2 separate regions of the Homo sapiens genome follow, and region 2 is linked to region 1. Evidence: promoter capture Hi-C in 16 types of primary human blood cells and fetal thymus (Javierre and others, 2016). All regions are on one chromosome and are shown on one strand. The core of a region is centred on a gene start or on the middle of the fragment in contact, and the rest is flanking DNA. Distances in the headings are between cores, read along the strand shown. Region 1 holds the start of HEBP1 (heme binding protein 1). Region 2 overlaps BORCS5 (BLOC-1 related complex subunit 5).

What was found. Contacts are between HindIII fragments. The CHiCAGO score rates a contact against its expected background, and 5 or more counts as called.
Region 2: a contact is called between a fragment that was not itself captured here and the fragment with the promoter of HEBP1 in region 1, in 4 of 17 cell types (total B cells, fetal thymus, neutrophils and 1 more). The highest score is 8.0, in total B cells.

Annotation. Positions count from the first base shown.
Region 1 is chr12:12,998,355-13,002,235 of GRCh38, forward strand. HEBP1 (heme binding protein 1) reads right to left here and starts at 1,911. Exons shown (of 4, transcript NM_015987.5): 1 at 1,683-1,911. The coding sequence starts at 1,760. All of the region lies in intron 2 of GPRC5D-AS1 (GPRC5D and HEBP1 antisense RNA 1), which reads left to right. It also overlaps the pseudogene HTR7P1. RefSeq lists silencers at 1,776-1,925, 1,976-2,095, 2,856-3,005 and an enhancer at 3,430-3,881. The HindIII fragment of the contact is 1,773 bases long and covers 996-2,768 here.
Region 2 is chr12:12,370,920-12,374,640 of GRCh38, forward strand. All of the region lies in intron 2 of BORCS5 (BLOC-1 related complex subunit 5), which reads left to right. Among named protein-coding and RNA genes, the nearest start is that of BORCS5, 16 kb to the left of the region's middle. The HindIII fragment of the contact is 9,315 bases long and covers 1-3,721 here.

The sequences.
Region 1 (3,881 bases), core at 661-3,160:
ATGTATGGTTTTCCTTAAGAATTTGGCAACACTGTTTCATATATCACTGCATAGCAACAAGTGGCTGGAACTGCCGTTTAGAGATGGGGACCTGAGTTCACTCTCTGATTTGCCTCAGTCCCCACTATGCCTTATAGCCTAAAACAGCCAGCTTCATCCATTTCCATTACCTGCCTGGTTGCTGCAGGTATTCAAATGTGGGACCTCTGATCAGGGCTAAACTGTTCATTCTACATAGAGCTGGGGAAACGGAGATAAGAACAGGTGAAAGGTCTTTGGTTGTCAAAGAGTTCAGATTAGAGTCTAATTGAGGGCTTTCGTGATATGAAGATCATTGTACTAGGTATCAGAACTTGGCCCCCAGGCAATACAGTCCTTTCACAAATGAGGCATCGTATTGGGAGCTCTGTATACAGCTGCACTGTTTAAACTACCTGTCCACCAGGAGATTATAATCTAGCAGCACTCTCCTTGTTTTCAGGGGTGCAGTCCAGTTAGCCCATGTTAGCACTGATATAAATTTGGGGGAAGACAGCAATTATGCTCTTCTCACTCATTCTGTATTCTAGGTACCCAACTCCAGAGGATCTAACTGGCCAAAAGCAATGGTACAGCTCTGGGCCTTTGTGCATGCTCTTCTCTGTTGTGTGCACTCCTACACATCCCTGAGGCCCCAGCTCAGGACACTCCACTGAGGTCCCCATCATAGCCCCCTGGCAGAATTGACTGCCTCTGTGCTCCCTGCGTAGCGCATTTATATCTATTCTGCACAGATCTTGTTCTTTTACACAGTAGTCCCCCTTATCTATAGTAGATACCTTCCAAGCCCCCCAGTGGATACCTGAAACGGTGGACAAAACTGAACCCTGTATCTACTACGTTTTTTCCTATACATACATACCTATGATATAGTTTAACTTTATCAATTAGGCACAGTAAGAGATGAACAACAATAATAAAATAACAGCAATTATAACAATATGCCAGCATTGCTAAGCTTGCACTTTGGGGCCATTACTAAGTAAAATAAGGGTTACTTCAATACCGCCACGGTCGATCCGATCACCAAGCTAGCTACTAAGTGACTAAGGGCGGCTACTAGAGATAGGAGGCTGACCTTGGACAAAGGGGCATTCCGGTCCCAGGAATCAAGATTTCATCCTGCTACGCAGAATGGCCGGAAACTTAAAACTTAGGACTTCTGTATTTCTGGAATTTTCCATTTAATAGTTATGGACAAGAGCTGACCACAGGTAACTGAAATCGCGGATAAAGGGGGCTACTATCCGCAGTTCTCTAGTACTTGGGAGTTTCTTGCGACACTCATTTCTGCAACCGAGTGTCTCTCAACAAATCAAACTGTTCGGAATGTTTGGAATATTTTAAACGAAAGAATGCATTCAACAGGCAGTGCCCAACTCCCCAAGTTGGGATTCTCTCCTTGGATCAGTCTCTCCTGTTTACCCCCCTCCTCTCACCACCGGCTGCAGGGGGACCTCTCACTCCTTTCCTTCCCAGTCCAAATGCTGGGCGGTGGAGAGCCGCACTCGCGACAGACACCAGAACGCACCTTCGATAGCACATTCCTGCCCCACCTGCCCCTCAGCACCCGCTGCAGCCCCGACGAGGGTGGGGGTGGGAGGCAGCAATCCTTCAGGTCCTCGGCAGCCCTGCGGGCCTACCTTGTCCCCTTTGCTTAGGACCTGCCAAGGCCACGTCTCTACGCTTCCGAACAGCGAGTTCTTGATCATGCCCAACATGTTGTAGCCGAGACGCTCCCGACGCACGGGAGGACGTGAGGTGGCGGGGGCGACGGAGCACCACGGGCAGCGACCACCGGCGGCAGGGCGGCAGGGCGGCAGGGCGGCAGGGCGGCAGGGTGGCAGGGCGGCAAGGCGGCGGGACGGCGAGGCGGCGAGGCGAGAGGCGGGGCTAGAGGCAGGGGCCAGAGGGCGTGGCTAGAGGGCGGGGCGGCAATTCAGCCCGGCGGTGAGGCAAGGGGGCGGGACGGCGAGGTGAAGGGGCGGAGAGAGAGGGCGGGGCGGCGAGGCGAGGGGGCGGAGAGAGGGCGGGTCAGTGATGCGAAGGGCGGGCAGCAGGGCAGCAGTGCAGCAGTGCAGCAGTGCGGTGAGGCGAGGGTGCGAGGCGGCTAAGCAAGGGATGGGCCCGCCGTGGCGAGCCGCTGGGCCGTGTTCCGCCTCCTTTCGGGCTTTCCGCGGGTGTCTGGGGAGGGAACCCGGCCGCGGGCCTCAGGCCGTCCCCCTCCGCAGACCCCTTCTCTTATTCTGAGTCTAACCTATCCGCTGGGGCCCTGGAAAGCGATTCTCGCCTGGAGTGGCTTTAGGCAGCGGTGGTGGGGAACGTCCTCTCTCAGGTGCCTGGGCTCCAACCTCCGAGCCCCGGGTTGCTCACGCTTCTCCGGTCCTCTACCCGAAGGCTCGATCCCGCTGGTACAGCGGCGGCCAGGCTCCCTGTCTTGGTAGCTGTCCCTCTACCCCCGCCCCATGACCTCTTCTAGACCATTGAAAGAGCATCCAAACCACTTTCCTGCTGCCACTCTTTCCTACCATCCCTCTAAATCACAGTTTCCAGGTGACTTTTCTAAGCATGGCTTTTCTCGTTCACTCCTGTTCAAAAATCTTCTCACCAATTTTGTCACCATTTACTCAGCTGAGTGCCTGCTTTCTGTCAAGTATTTTACCAATAAATCTCTACTCCACACCACCGACAAGAAATATTTTGGAGCCATTTAAAAAGGAGGAAACGGAAGCTTCTGCCGCTGCCTGATCCTCCATTGCTCCGAGCCGCGCGGGTGCAGCGGGCTGTGGAGCCGCGGGCCGAGCCCCGCCGGAGCGCCCGAGAGCCCGCGCGTCCCGGGCGTCCGTCGGGGTCCGAGGTCCCTCCCTCAGGGAGTCCCCGCTCGGCAGCGCTCTCGCGTTTCACGCAGCGGCCGGGGATCTGGGACAGGCGGGGCCCCGAGGCCGAGCCTGGCGCTGCCCAGCGGCCGGTGCAGGCCTCAAGCTGGGCCGGGCGGAGGGGAACCGGCGAGTTGAAGCCCCGGGGCCGAAAGCCGGAGCCTGTGGCGGCCGCGGGGGTGGGGAGGGGGGTGGGGCGGCTTCTTGGGCAGCGCCACACGGCGGCGCAGTGATGGATGTTAACAGCAGCGGCCACCCGGACCTCTACGGGCGCCTCTGCTCTTTCCTCCTGCCGGAGGTGGGGGGCAGGCTGCCCGACCTGAGCCCCGACGGTGGCGCCGAACCGGTCGCGGTCTCCGGGACGCCGCATCTGCTGAGCGGGGGCCCCCGAGGTGACGGCCAGCCCGGCGCCCACCTGGGACGCAACCCCGGGCAATGCCTCCGGCCGCGGGGAGCAAATCAAGAAAGGGCCGAGAAAGTTGTGATCGGCTCTGTCCTGACGCTCATCTCTCTGCGATCGCGGGCAACTGCCTGGTGGTATCTCCGTGTGCTTCGTCAAGAAGCTCCGCCAGCCCTCCAACTACCTGATCGTGTCCATGGCGCTGGCCAACCTCTCGGTGGCCATGGCGGTCATGCCCTTCATCAGTGTCACCGACCTCATCGGGGGCAAGTGGATCTTTGGACACTTTTTCTGTAACGTCTTCTCCATGAATGTCATGTGCTGCACGGCCTGGATCTTGACCTTGTACGTGATCAGCATCGACAGGTACCTTGGGATCATGAAGCCTCTCACGTACCCTATGAGGCAGAAGGGGAAATGCATGACGAAGATGATTCTTTCTGTCTGCCTTCTTTCCGCCTTTGTCACTTTACCTACCATTTTTGGTCGGGCTCAGAATGTAAACGATGATAAGGTGTGCTTGGTCAGTCAAGACTTTGGCTACACGATTTACTCCACCGCAGTGG
Region 2 (3,721 bases), core at 17-2,516, 630 kb before region 1:
TCTGTATTTTTAGCAGAGACGGGATTTCACTGTGTTAGCCAGGGTGGTCTCGATCTCCTGACCTTGTGATCCGCCCACCTCGGCCTCCCAAAGTGCTGGGATTACAGGCGTGAGCCACTGCGCCTGGCCTACTGTGTCCTTTTAACATATTCCCCTTATACTTTGAAAATGTCTTTATTTTCTGGCACAATATAATGTTCCAGACTTATTTTGTTCTTCCATGTCTCCAGCTCTAGAATCGGGTATTTCTTAAAGGAACCCTGGTTCTTTTAGTGAAGGGTCTTATTTAGAATCCATTTCTGGACCTTCTCAGAAGATTTAGCTAGGGAATCCATAGATACACACCCACACATTTACACCTATGTTTATTTTTTATATGTTCGTGTATTTGGCAACACGATCTTGCCCTTTCACCCTGGCTGGAGTGCAGTGGCACAATCACGGCTCACTGCAGCTTTGACCTCCTGGGCTCAAGGAATCCTCCTACCTCAGCCTCCTGAGCAGCTGGGACTACTCTGCGTGCCACCACGCCCAACTAATCTTTTTGTATTTTTTGTAGAGATGGGGTTTCCCAATGTTGCCTAGGCTAGTCTCAAACTCCTGGGCACAAGCGATCCACCTGCCTCAGCCTCCCAAAGTGCTGGGATTGCAGGCATGAGCCACCATGCCTGGCCTATATTTTCTATATATTGAAAATGACAAGTTCACACTAATATGTTCTCTATGTTCTTTGATCTGCAGGTTTGTACTTTTAATCGAAAACTTTGGTCATTATGTCTTCCAATATTTTTCTGCTCCCCCCACCTGCTTTTTGTGGGACGCCAATTCGATGTTAGACCGCTTGATATTTTCTTACACATCACTGACACACCTTTCAATTTTTATTTTTAGTCTTTTCCTTTCTGTCCTTACTTTGGATAATTTTTACTGCTGTGTTTCCATGTTCAGTGGTCTTTTTTTCTGTCATGTCTGTACTGCTTTTAATCTCATCCAAGGTGTTCTTAATTTCAGATGCTGGTATTTTTCAGCTTTAGATTCTCCCCCTTAAATGTCTTTGATCTCTCTGCTTATCATGCTTATGTTTTCCTCTACTTTTTGAACGTATGAGTACTTCAATTTTATTTTAATTTTATTTTTAAGAGGGAGTTTCGCCCTTGTCGCCCAGGCTGGAGTGCAATGGCACGATGTCAGCTCACTGCAACCTCTGCCTCTAGGGTTCAAGCAATTCTCATGCCTTAGTCTCCTGAGTAGCTGGGATTTCAGCCACCCGCCACCATGCCCAGCTAATTTCTGTACTTTTAGTAGAGACGGGGTTTCGCCATGTTGGCCAGGCTGGTCTTGAACTCCTGACCTCAGGTGATCCACCTGCCTCGGCTTCCTAAAGTGCTGGGAGTAGAGTGCATTTCTTTTAAAATTTACTTACTAATTTTTTTTTTCCTTTTAGAGACAGGATCTCGCTCTGTTGCCCAGGCTAGAGTGCAGTGGCACCACCGTGGCTCACTGCAGCCTCAACCCCCCTGGGCTCAAGCAAACCGCCTGCTTCAGTCCACCAAATTGTTGGGATTACAGGCATGCACCACCACACCTGGCCTGGATTTCATTTTATTCCTTTAAGGATACCAGACTTTATTCTGGCATATACATATGGTTAAGTTACTTGTAGTCATTTGGACCCTTCCCATGTTTTCTTTTAAATACCGTTGGGGCTCATCTAGTGCAGTCTTTGCCTAGTTTAATTTCATCTCACTACTAAGGTGAAATCCTTCTGAGTACTCTACCTGTTGCCTTATGTATTATGAAGTCTCTCCACTGTGGCTAATGGGAACATGAGCTCTTCAGAAAATATTTGGCCTACTGCTTCTCTCTAGTTTTCTCCAGTCTCTGGAATTTCACCTTACAAATTTACAGATGATGTTTTCAGAGATTTAAGGGTACCCTGTGCAGATCTCAAGGCTGCCCCCTTCTCTCCCATATTCTGTTGTGTAAATCCTACCCACTTTAGTTTCTGCAAACTTTGCTCTCTCTCTAACTCAGTGAGGCTGCTGGGCTTTTTTTGATGTCCATTCTGCTATGGACTGAATGATTATGTCTCCCCCCAATTCACAGGTTGAAATTGTAATCCCCAATATGCTGTATTAGGAGATGGGGCCTTGGGAAGTGATTTGATCATGAGGGTGGAGCCCTCATGTCATGGGAGTCACGCCCTTACAAGAAGAGAGGGGAGAGAGGTTCCTTCTTCCTTCTGTTCTTAGCCATGTGAGGACACAAGGAGAAGACAGCCATTTGCAAACCAGGAAGAGTGCCCTCACCAAATATCCAATGTGCTAGCACCTAAATCTTGTACTTCCCAGCCTCCAGAACTGTGAGAAATAAATGTATGTTGTTTAAGCCATCCAGTTTATGGTATTCTTGTTGTAGCAGCCTGTACCGACCAAGACACCTCCCTGGTCTGCCTCTTGGAAACTGCCTTTAGGTAATAAGCTGGGAAAATGGTAGGGCTTGTTTTCCTTCTTTCAGGGATCAAAGTCCTGTGCTGCCTGTTATACAGTATCGGAAATGAGTGTTTCATATATTTTTGTCTGGTTTTCTAGTTGTTTATTATTGCATAATAGCAGTTAATCCTTCATGTGCAGAGGCAGAAATCCTTAAAAAAATGCTTTTTAATCCATATTTTTCTGTCCGATACCAGTTTTTCCATTTTACTTATAAGACCCTCCTGCCAACAGCCTTTAATTGGTCATTCATTTCTGCAACATATTGATAAGCACCTGCTAAGTGCCTGATGTGGTCAGACAGTGCAGGTACAAAAAATAGAAGACATAGTTGCTGCCCTTTAGGACCTTATTGTTTTGTGAGCGATTTAGACAGGTAAGTATTCACAATAATATCATATTAGTAACACTGGCCACATGTCCCAAAGAGTAGATAAACATGGAGGAGATAATTATTAATTTGGCCTGGGAATTTGGGGCAGGCTTCCTAGAGGAAGTAGAATTCAGCTGAGCTTTGAGGGATGAATAGCAGGTAGCTACATAGAGAAGGCAGGGTTGCAGAGAGTATTCTTTTTTTTTTTTTTTTTTTTTTTTGAGACGGAGTCTCGCTCTGTCGCCCAGGCTTGAGTGCAGTGGTGCAATCTCGGCTCACTGCAAGCTCTGCCTCCCGGGTTCACGCCATTCTCCTGCCTTAGCCTCCCGAGTAGCTGGGACTACAGGTGCCCGCCACCACGTCTGGCTAATTTTTTTTTTGTATTTTTAGTAGAGATGGGGTTTCACTGTGTTAGCCAGGATGGTCTCGATCTCCTGACCTCGTGATCCGCCCGCCTCAGCCTCCCAAAGTGCTGGGATTGCAGGTGTGAGCCACCGCACCCGGCCAAGGGTATTCTTAGTTTAAAAGTCTTCTATATATATTTTAAAACATATTTAAAAGATGCTGGCCAGTCACAGTGGCTCATGCTTCTAATTCCAGCACTTTGGGAGGCCGAGGTGGGAGGATTACTTGAGCCCAGAAGTTTGAGACCAGCCTGAACAACATGGTGAGACCCTGTCTGTACTACAGAAAAAAAAAAAAAAGTTTATCTAGGTGTGGTGGTGTGCACCTGTACTCCCAGCTACTTGGGAGGCTGAAGTGGGAGGATCACTTGACCCTGGGAGGTCGAGCGGTGTTCATAGCGCTGTACTCCAGCCTGGGTGGCAGAATGAGACCCTGTCTCAAATAAAATAAA